2 separate regions of the Homo sapiens genome follow, and region 1 is linked to region 2. Evidence: promoter capture Hi-C in 16 types of primary human blood cells and fetal thymus (Javierre and others, 2016). All regions are on one chromosome and are shown on one strand. Each heading gives the region's core, a stretch centred on a gene start or on the middle of the fragment in contact. The rest is flanking DNA. Distances are from core to core; before and after follow the strand shown. Region 1 overlaps CENPP (centromere protein P). Region 2 holds the start of OMD (osteomodulin).

What was found. Contacts are between HindIII fragments. The CHiCAGO score rates a contact against its expected background, and 5 or more counts as called.
Region 1: a fragment that was not itself captured here is called in contact with the fragment with the promoter of OMD in region 2 in 1 of 17 cell types (megakaryocytes); the score reaches 5.4 in megakaryocytes.

What each region holds. Positions count from the first base shown.
Region 1 is chr9:92,357,819-92,363,994 of GRCh38, forward strand. The region is part of intron 4 of CENPP (centromere protein P); the gene reads left to right. Among named protein-coding and RNA genes, the nearest start is that of CENPP, 35 kb to the left of the region's middle. The HindIII fragment of the contact is 5,261 bases long and covers 1,675-6,176 here.
Region 2 is chr9:92,422,114-92,427,375 of GRCh38, forward strand. OMD (osteomodulin) reads right to left here and starts at 2,358. Exons shown (of 3, transcript NM_005014.3): 1 at 2,089-2,358. The region is part of intron 5 of CENPP (centromere protein P); the gene reads left to right. The HindIII fragment of the contact is 8,215 bases long and covers 1-3,241 here.

The sequences.
Region 1 (6,176 bases), core at 3,055-5,554, 62 kb before region 2:
CAGTTTTGCAGAATAGAAAATTCTTGGTTGACAGATTTTTTTTTTTCTTTTAGCACTTTGAATATATGACCTCACTGACTTCTGGCCTCCATACTTTCTGATGAAAAATCTGCTGATCATTTTATTGAACATCCCTTGTATGTGACCAGTCTCTTTTCTCTTGCTGCTTTCAAGATATTCTCTCTTTGTCTTTGTCTTTTGACAGCTTGATTATAATGTTTCTCTATGTGGATCTCTTAGTTCATCTTGGAGTTCTTTGAGTCTCTTGGATGTTTTATATTCATATCTTTCATCAAATTTGGGATGTTTTAACACTTTATTCTGTCTGCTTCTTCCTCTCTTTTTTTTTTTTTCTGAGACTCCTACAGTGCAGAAGTTGGTAGTTTGTTCTCTTGACATGTCCCCATGTCCCACAGTTTCCTTACATTCTTTTTTTTTCTTTTTAATGGAGTTTCCCTCTGTCACCCAGGCTAGAGTACAGTGGCGCAATCTCAGCTCACTGCAACCTCCACCTCATAGGTTCAAGCAATTCTCCTGCCTCAGCCTCCCGAGTAGCTGGGATTACAGGTGCCTGCTGCCACATTCAGCTAATTTTTTGTATTTTTAGTAGAGATGGGGTTTCACCATGTTGGTGTGGCTGGTCTTGAACTCCTGACCTCAAGTGATCCACCCACCTTGGCCTCCCAAAGTGCTAGGATTACAGGCATGAGCCACCACGCTCAGCTAGTTTCCTTACATTCTGTTCACTTTTCCTCATTCTTTTTTCTTTTTATTTCTCAGACTTGACAATTTCTATTGTCCTATCTCCAGGTTTGGTGATTTTTCTTTCTGCCTACTCAAATCTGCCTTTGAATTCCTGTAGTGAATTTTTCATTTTAATTATTGTACTTTTCACTTCCAGAATTTCTTTTGGTTTTCTTTTAGGTTTCTTTCTTTGTATTGATATTTCTATTGTGTTCCTGTATCATTTTCTTAACTTTCTCCAGATCTTTCTTTAGCATTTTTAAGATGGTGGTTGTAAAGTCTGTATGGTAGATCTACCATCAGATTTTTTTTCAGGGATGCTGTCTATTCATTTATTTTTTTTCATTTCACGAGGCCATTCTTTTGTATCTCTTTTTTTTTCTTTCTTTCTTTTTTTTTTTTTTGAGATGGAGTTTCGCTCTTGTTGCCCAGGCTGGAGTGTAATGGCATGATCTGGGTGCACTGCAACCTCTGCCTCCCAGGTTCAAGCGATTCTCCTGCCTCAGCCTCCCAAGTAGCTAGGATTAAAGGCATGTGCCACCACACCCAGCTAATTTTGTATTTTTAGTAGAGAGGGGGTTTTGCCATGTTGGTCAGGCTGGTCTTGAACTCCCGGCCTCAGGTGATCCGCCTGCCTTGGCCTTTCAAAGTGTTGGGATTACAGGCATGAGCCACCGTGCCCAGCCTTCTTTTATATTTCTTTGTATCCCTTGTGTTTTGTTGTTATTGTTGTTGAAAAGGGCTCATTTGAACCTAATAATGTGGTAACCCCCAAAGTCAGATTCTCCCTCTTCCCCAGGGTTTACAGGCTTGTTATTGTTATTATTTATTTTATTTATTTATTTATTCATATTTTTGTAGGCCATCTCTGTGCCAGGGATTAACCTGAGGTATAAACTTAAGGTCTTCTCAGTTTGTTTCTGGGCTTGAAGCTTTCCATGGGTATGTGCAATCTCTTACAGAATCTCCCCTTATATGCAGTTATTTGTCAATGTCCTAGTCTTGATTGTTCGGCTCTTAGAAAGGGGAAATGAAGAAAATGAAGGTGGGAAAAAAGGAGCTCTGGCCTTTTAAGTCCCCTGGAAATCACTTCAACTGGAGGAAGCAGGGTTTTCAAAAGTGTGGGGATGTGTAACTACAATGGCTGCCTGACTCTTTGTCTACACTTCTGTGATAAGAAGCCGCAGTGAACAAAACACAGATCCTTTATGGCTGGAGGACAGGGTCCTTTTTTTTTTTTTGCTTGCTCTGGCTTCTATAAGCTGTGTGTAAGCTGCTCTGGTTATACTCACATGACTGCCTGCCAGGGGGGTGGGGGTGAAGAAATGGGTAGCTGCTGCTATACTAAGAGCTGAAATTTGCTAAAATTAATCACAATTTACCATCCAAGCCCTTCTCCAAGCCTTTGCCTGGATGTTGCCAGCCTTCATTAGACTCAGAGTTTCCAAATGGTTATATCAAACAGATTCTGCCAGTGAAATTGTTATATAAGTGGAGAGATGGAATTCTGGTACTTCCTATTCTGTCATCTTCTCAAAACCCTCTCCTTTAAATATATTTTAATATTCTCTTTTAATTTATTTCATTCACGTTTTGGCTATATTTGTATTATTTTTTATTGGCTGCTGTGGGGATTATAACATACGTAACCTAACTTTTAACAGTCTATTTAGATTTGATACTTTACCACTGCAGTTATAGTCTTGTGGTCCTATAACCACATGGATCACTTCCCCTTCCTGCTTCATGTGGTAGTTTTCATGTGAATTATATTCACATGTATGTGCTGAAAAACTCCATTAGTCCAGTCTGAGCAACAAAGGAAGACCCTATCTCTACAAAAACAACAACAAAATTAGCTTATTGTAGTGGGGTGCACTCGTAGTCCCAGCTACTTGGTAGGCTGAGGTAGGAGAATTACTTGAGCCCAGGAGTTCGACAGTGCAGTGAGCTGTGATTATGCTATTGCACTTTAGCCTGGGAGACTGAGACCCTGTCTCAAAATATAATAATGATAATAATAAAACTCCATTAGATAACATTATAATGTTTTACTTCAACTGTCATACATACTTTAAATAACTTAAGAAAAGGCTAATAGTTTGTCATATTTCTCCAGATTTTTATTTTTTATTTTTATTTATTTATTATTATTATTTTTTGAGATGGAGTCTTGCTGTCGCCCAGGCTGGAGTGCAATGGCGTAATCTCAGCTCACTGCAAGCTCTGCCTCCTGGGTTCACACCATTCTTCTGCCTCAGCCTCCCGAGTAGCTGGGACTACAGGCGCCCACCACCACACCCGGCTAATTATTTTTGTATTTTTTAGTAGAGACAGGGTTTCACTGTGTTAGCCAGGATAGTCTCGATCTCCTGACCTCGTGATCCGCCCGCCTCGGCCTCCCAAAGTGCTGGGATTACAGGCGTGAGCCCCCGCCCCCGGCCATATTTATCTAGATTTTTAATGTTTCTGCTGCTGTTCTTGATATGGAGCCTTTTTAGGACATGTTGCATGTATCATGGCTCATTTCCCATAAATACTTAAGTGTGTATTTTTATTATTTTACTTTATTTATTTATTTATTTATTTATTTATTGAGATGGAGTCACACTCTGTTGCCCAGGCTGGAGTGCAGTGGCAAGATCTTGGTTCACTGCAACCTCTGCCTCCCAGGCTCAAGTGATTCTCCAGCCTCAGCCTCCCTAGTAGCTGGGACTACAGGCACATGCCACCACATCTGGCTAATTTTTGTATTGTTAGCAGAGACGGGGTTTCGCCGTATTGGCCAGGCTGGTCTCGAACCCCTGACCTCAAGTGATCCATGCACCTCAGCCTCCCAAAGTGTTGGGATTACAGGCATGAGCCACCGTACCTGGCCTTATTTTATTTTATTTTATTTTATTTTATTTTATTTTATTTTATTTTATTTTATTTTGAGATGGAGTCTTGCTCTGTCACCCAGGCTGGAGTGCAGTGGCACAATCTTGGCTCACTGCAACCTCCGCTCCCCAGGTTCAAGTGATTCTCCTGCCTCAGCCTCCTGAGTAGCTAGGATTGCAGGCATGCACCACCACGCACAGCTAATTTTTTTGTATTTTTAGTAGAGATGGGGTTTCACCATGCTGGCCAGGCTGGTCTCGAACTCCTGACCTCAAGTGATCCGCCCACCTTGGTCTCCCAAAGTGCTGGGATTACAGGCATGAGCCACTGCACCCGGCTCAAATGTGCAGTTTTAAGTTTAGAGATATTCCCTTATATAATTACAGTGCAGTGATCAACTTCATAAATTGACATTGATATGATACTTTTATCTAATATGCTTTCCATATGCCAGTTTTCTTAGTTGATCTCATAATATCTTACATTGCATTTTCTTTCTCCTTGAACCTGGGGAGTGGAGGTTGCAGTGAGCTGACATTGTGCCACTGCACTCCAGCCTGGGTGACAGAGCAAGACTCCATCATAAAATAAAATAAGATAAGATAAGATAAAATAAATTCAAGTATTGCATTTAGTTGTCATGTCTCTTTAGTTTCCTTTAATCTGGAGTTATTCCCTAGCCTTTCTTTGCCATGTTTCACTTTGTCATCTTTTTAAAAAGCTCTTCCTGCAACCATCCTGAGCAACAGAGCAAGGCTCTATCTCTTCAAAAAGTTAAAAAAAAAAAATTAGCCTGGCATAGTGGTGCATGCCTATAGTTCTAGCTACCTGAGGGGCTGAGGCAAGAGTATCATTTGAGACTGCAGTGAGCTATGATCAAGCTACTGCATTCCAGCCTGGGCCACAGGGCAAGATTTGTCTCTAAAAAAAAAGTTCTTTCCACTTTTTTGTTTGTTTCTTTTTCTTTCTACTTTTTTCCCCCAATAGAATGTTTCTTATTTTGTCTTTGATCATCTATTGTGATCAGTTGATGCTATGCCTTCTTAGGCAAATTCTGCATAGATGATATTTTGTCCTTCTCAGCATAGCTGTCCCTCATAGGTGATATTAAGTTTTTCACTCAATGAAACTGTTGTATTTCTCCACTATATGATAACTAATTTTTTCTCCTTTGGCTCCAATATGCAATCTGTGGGGACAGACTTGATGACCACACAATTACTACTCTTTATTAATATTTCTTCCTCAATTTAGCATCTATGATTATTCCTACCTTATCTACTCTCTACTATGATGTTTGCAAAATGATGATTTTTCAACTCTAGCACTTCCTCCACATTTCTCAGTAGGCATTTGGCATTATGCTTAAGAAATAGATCACCATTCTCTATGTATGTATATGTATCCATATTTATAATATGTATGGATTCATTCATTTCTTTTTTTTCCAACGATTTATAATTTCTTAATCTTATTTTGGTGCTCAAAGTGTCCCGGATTTGATCAGAGGGAATCTCTTTAAGCCGGCTCCTGAATCCATGTGTTAATTCCTTATTATATTTTTGAGCACTTCCTCATATTCTGTCATTAAAAGATTTTCCAGGCTCACAATATACCTGTCCTGCCCTAGGTGTAGATTCAGCAATTTATCTGAGGAACCAGAGTTTCTTTTTGTGGGAAATGGCATTAGAGACTGAGATCTGACACTAGGTCTGTTCATTGCTATTGGAGTGTCTTTGCTTCTTGGTTCTTTCAACAAACAGTACTAGGAAATATGTATTTATACATATATACACACACACACACACACACAAACCTGTATGTAAGAAATCATGATTCATATAATATTCATGTGCACAAATAGTCATGTGCCGCATAACTACTTTTTGATCAGTGACAGACTGCATATACAAAGGTAGTCTCATGATTACATTACTGTATTTTACTGTACCTTTCCTATGTTTAGATATGTTAAATGCACAAATACTTAACATTGTTTTACAATTGCCTACAGTATTTAGTATAGTAATGCTGTATAGGTTTATAGCCTAGGAGCAATAGGCCATACCATATAGCCTCGGTTTGCAGTAGGCTGTACCATTTAGGTTTAAGTACACTGTATGATGTTCCTATAGTGAATAAATCATCTGACAATGCATTTATCAGAATGTATCCCTGTTGTTAAGCTACACATGACTATAAATATTTACAAAATTATGAGTGTACACCAAGGCCTCCAGTTCTACTCTAGCTTATCCCCAGTTTATAGTATGTATGTGTTTATGTGTCTATATACATACTATCATTTCACATTTCTATGTCCTTTCTTCCATATTGAGAAACTTGGCTCCTAGAAATATCAACAAAGTTATTCATTTGCTCAATCCTATTGGGTTTTTTTTTTGTTTTGTTTTTGTTTTTTTTGAGATGAGGTGTCACTCTGTTGCCCAGGCTGGAGTGCAGTGGTGCAAACCCGGCTCACTGCAACCTCCACCTCTCAGGCTCAAGTGGTCCTCCCACCTCAGCCTCCTGAATAGCTGGAACCACAGGCA
Region 2 (5,262 bases), core at 1,108-3,607:
AATCTCGGCTCACTGCAACCTCCGCCTCCCAGGCTCAAGTGATTCTTGTGCCTCAGCCTCCTGAGTAGCTGGGATTACAGGCGTGCACCACCACGACTGGCTACATTTTTTTGTATTTTTAGTTAAGACGGGATTTTGCCATGTTGGCCAGCCTGGTCTCGAACTCCTGACCTCAGGTGATCCGCCCACCTCAGCCTCCCAAAGTGCTGAGATTACAGGTGTGAGCCACCTGCCTGGCTGAAAACTCAGCTTGAATTTTATCCCTTTGTTGAGAACATTAGCTAATCATCAGTTATCAACCTTACATTTGAGAATTAGAGTCTGTTGTTCAACAACTATGAAAAATTGTTGGGAAAAAAGAAGAAGGCCTTGAATCAAGACATGACTGGGGCGTCTCTGAAAATAAAGAGGTTTTTAATATTGTCTGCTTTCCGCCTTTGTGAGCACCTAAGAAGAAAGTCTTTCCTTGAGGAACAATTTCTCTTCTAAACCTGAACTTATCTTAAACATCCTTGTCCTCCTCCCTCCACGTTCCTAACCATGTAGTACAATCTTGTCCCACTCCCTTTGATTAAGTGCAGTTTTCTGTTTTGAAATCCATCCTGTTTTCATCTATATGCTCATTATTTTCTATGCCTCTTGCTCTTTCCCCAGGATAATTTCCCCTGTTACAACAATCTCTTATTTTATCCAAATTTTTCATTCCCCAACTAATCTCTTCTGAGTCATTTGCTAAGCATATTTTTGTTACTTCTGCTTTTCATACTCTACAATGTATGCCTTGTTCTCTATAGGATAACTCACAGCAATATTGTATAATTCATTGTTGATCATCTCATTTCCTAATATCTTTTAACAGAATCTAATACAATGCAGTGTTATAAGTGCTCAAAGGTGTGTTGAATGAATAAGTTAATAAGTTATAGGTTAAGGCTTGCTAGCAAATGCTTCTCTCTACTAATGTTGATTATTCCTAGGCATTTATTTCACTATGATAATTTCTTCAAATGAACATATTCATGAGAGCTTGACTGTTCCTTTTTCTATTGAATATTTCTTCATCACAATATACTGTATTCCTCACTTTCCTAGTACATCGTGTAGCAGGAAAAGAACAAATGTGAAAAAGAATGTTTGGAGCAAAGTAATATATATATATTACCAGTTTTCAATGTGAATTTTTCATATTATAGCAATAAAACCATCTGTGTCATAATATTTCTCTTACTTGGAGAAAAGCACTCGTGTTCATCAAGAAAAGTTTCAATTGAAATTACTAATGAGGTATAATTTACTTGTTCAGGAAAAGTTTAAAGTAAAATCCTCAACATTTTATTATGTTAAAGACATAATTGTTTTTATTTGTATGACATAGAAACTAGCATATAAGAAAGCAAATATTAGCATATAATTTAGATTTTTCCAAAAAAGTTCTAAATTTTAATTTTATAAAATTTTTTTGCTATTAAAAATACAATTACCTCAATTATTTTTAGCCATAATACATTTAAATCGTAATTAACTAAAACCCAAAGTAACTAGATCCTTCAATAGACTAGATAGAGCATCTGTATTTTCCCTTTGAGAAAGAAGTAAATGAAAAGAAAAACATTCTATATCAGGGATTTAGTCAGTAGAGAAATTTGGAGAAAATCTTGAGTGAAATTTGTACAAATGCCCATCAACCCCCCAACCGGAATCACTAGCATTGCTCAGCTGTATGCCTCAAAGGCATTAGCTGGTTCTTTGTTACTTATAATTCATAGAAAAAAAGAGACCTAAGGAAGAGAAAGAGATTGATTCCTTTAACCTGAGAATCTTTCCTTTCATTCAAAGTAAAAAAAAATCTAAACAAAGATTTTTTATTGGGTAAATCTTAAATGAGAAAGTTAAACTCATTATACTACTTTATTTGAACATTTTGCCTAATCAAAAGTTTAACATAACTTTTTTACCAGATTTTGCTTCCAAAAATTGTGCTTTTGTAATAGATGCAGTCTATTTTAATATTAAAAAATCCAATATACTTTTAAATTTTAACAGTAGGAATACATTCTTAAAAAATTGAAAATTATTTTATTATCATACCTGTTCAATTTGCTTTAGTTTTCAGGGGTTGATGAATTTGTAAATCCTTTAAATGAATCAGAAATTCCTAAATTCTTTAACTGAGTCTCTTAAAAATCCACAGTAACTCTGTGTCCAGACAGGGCTGTCTCTTGAATTACTGTAGCAATTTAAGCAAATACAATCTTCTTGGAAAACACTCGGGTTGAATTAAAATTATGTATTTCTTTTCATTACATGAAACTTTGTGGATTCAAATTAAGATGCTTGTGTTCTTGGTCAGATTTATGTGGCTTACTTCTTTCTTTTCCCCTTAATTTTGGTTTGAGGTGTGGCAAGAATTTCCTCTAATGTGAAAGGCAAACAAAACTAAATGAAACAGCATGTACTGATTACTGTTTTTATTTTCATTTTCATGCCAAAGAATTCTTCAAATTAAGGCCCACTGTGACAGGGAACTCCAGAGTCTCAGCAACTTAAGGTGGAACTCAAAATTTCTTTTTTAATTTTTTGAGATGGAGTCTTGCTTTGCTGCCCAGGCCAGAGTATAGTGGTGCAACCTCGGCTCACCACAACCTCCACCTCCCGGGTTCAAGCAATTCTCCTGTCTCAGCCTCCCAAGTAGCTGGGATTACAGGCATGAGCCACCATGCCTGGCTAATTTCTTGTATTTTTAGTAGAGATGGGGTTTCACCATGTTGGCCAGGCTGGTCTTGAACTCCTGACCTCAGGTGATCCTCCCGCCTCCACCTCCCAAATTGCTGGGATTACAGGCATGAGCCACCACGCCTGGCCTGGAACTCAAAATTTCTTGAGTCCCTTGGTTATTCAACACCTAGGTTCATATCAGTACTTCTATTTGTTAAAACAAGAAATCAGGATTAGAAACATAACATTTCGCATTGTTTATTTTTAAAATGCACTTGATTGTCATTGCTTACACAGATTAACTATACGACTTTTCTATACAAAGGCTTACATCTTCATTTTTATCATCATTTTTATCAGCTATCTCATTTCTCCTCTTTTTGGCAGATGTACCCACTAGAATGACTTCTAATATCCTTTCAGATAAAATTAGTCAGTTGGTTGCACTCCAAAGGTGTATCTTCAATTTGCCTGTTTTTACTATTGCACAAAATAATTCTGTAGTATTGAATAAAATGGGATGAAAAGCTTATGTTACTCAATAGCTATTGCCTTTATTTTGTAGATTTAGAAAATTTCTTCATTTCATAGAGCTATCTCTCCTGAATAGTAACAGTTAACTGTTTTTAATGTTTAATTTTTACACTGTTCTCATATTCTAAACAGAGAGTTGACTTGTGTCTTTTGGCAGTAGATTCGGAGTTCATTTTGGGGGGGAATTCTTTTAAGCTTTTACAAACTAATAAGATAAAGTGAATCCTGGAGTTCATTTTGTTTCCTCAAAAAAGTGTTTTCCATTAGCTTTTTACAAAGAACTCACAAGATTTATTTTGTTAAACTTTGCATTAAGAAAAGTATACAGTGTTTCAAGTGATGCTTTGGCAGTTGTAAAAATCTAGTCTATTATTTGAGACATTGGTATGAAAAACGTGGCAGACCACACTTTAGCCAAGATTCCATCTTGTTACTGATCTTTTCCATATGTTTTCTGTTAGTGTCTTTGTTCTTAAAACTCAGGCTTTCACTAAGGAAGAGAGAGCAAATCTGTGTACTTTTTCAAAAAATTGTTTTATAGGCCTTCACAGTCCTTTTGGAAGATTAACTGAAAATCAACAGCCTAATGTTTATATAACTTCTCATTAACTCTGTGATTTGGATTTATGATATTGATTATGTTATTCATGTTTTTAACAAGTGTGAAAGAAAAATCAGTAGATAACTAGAGCAGACAGAATAAAAATGTCTAGAAAATTTAAACTGATTGGCAGTGTCTATCTAGGAGGTTTAAGGTGGCAAGGGATGGGGATGGGGGGAGGTGGTGGTAGTTAGAGTCAGGCCTTAAAGGAAAAAATAGGGGATGTGAGTTTGTAATAGTTCACTGTTTTAGTTAAGTGGTTATAATTGTAGCAATTGGGGAGAAAAGGAGTTGAATTGTTGAAAAGTGTAAATTATATGCTATGATTATACTTTGATTGAAATAGATTCAGTATCTCAAAGCTGAGTGACACAGGACTGGCTAGGAAAGGCCCTCCTGAGACCTGCTTAATTAACATAATAAGCATTACAATTTTCTGCTCATTTGTTCCACTTTATTCACTGGACACCTACTTTGTGCAGATTTTAGATGCTTGGGACTCAGCAGTGAAAGTCTCTGTTATAGAGAAGGAAAACAGAAAATAAACATAAATAAGCATAAAATGCAGAATATAAACAATGTAGAGTGCGATGGAAGAGAATAATGCAAGGTAAAGGGATAAAAATGAATGAGGCATGGGGGTACGGGTCAACAGTTCAGGCACCGCTGTATGTGGGGACTGGAATGGAACAATTAAGTTACTGTATGGCAGATGGTGAGAGCCAGGTGTCTCACCGTTGGAGTGGAAGTTACAAATAAATAAGCGAGGTGAGGTGGTGACAGTGATTCATGTGGTAATAGATTAGAGTTGAAGACATCAGTATGAACTCATATTTAGCTTAATATAGATACAGCTGGTTAAAAGGGAAATGTAATTATGTTATATACACATAGTACACACATAGACCTCCTTGCTCTGTTGGCTGAGAGATCCTACAAGCAGGAGCACTTTAAGCAGCAACAAACACAAAGCCCAGATCTTGGTTTCTAACATCATTTTCCAGTAAAAGGAACCAGGGCTGCTCCTTGGAGAAATGGCTGTTTCCAGGAGGACTGGAGCAAGGAAAGTAGGAGATGGGCCTGGAGCATTGTACAGTACCAGAAAAAGGGCACTCAGCAAAGAAAGGGATCTGGGGAGTCTCTGTTCTTCCACTCAGTTTTGCTGTGAACCTAAAACTGCTCTAAAAAATAAAGTCTATTAATCTTTTTTGTTGTTGTTGAGACAGTCTGGCTCTGTCGCCAAGGCTGGAGTGCAATGGCGCCGTCTTGGCTCACTGCAGCCTCCACCTCCTGGGTTCAAGCGATTCTCCTGCCTCAGCCTCCTGACTAGCTGGGATTACAGGTGTGCACCACCACACCCAGCTAATTTTTGTATTTTTAGTAGAGACTGGGTTTCACCATGTTGGCCAGCC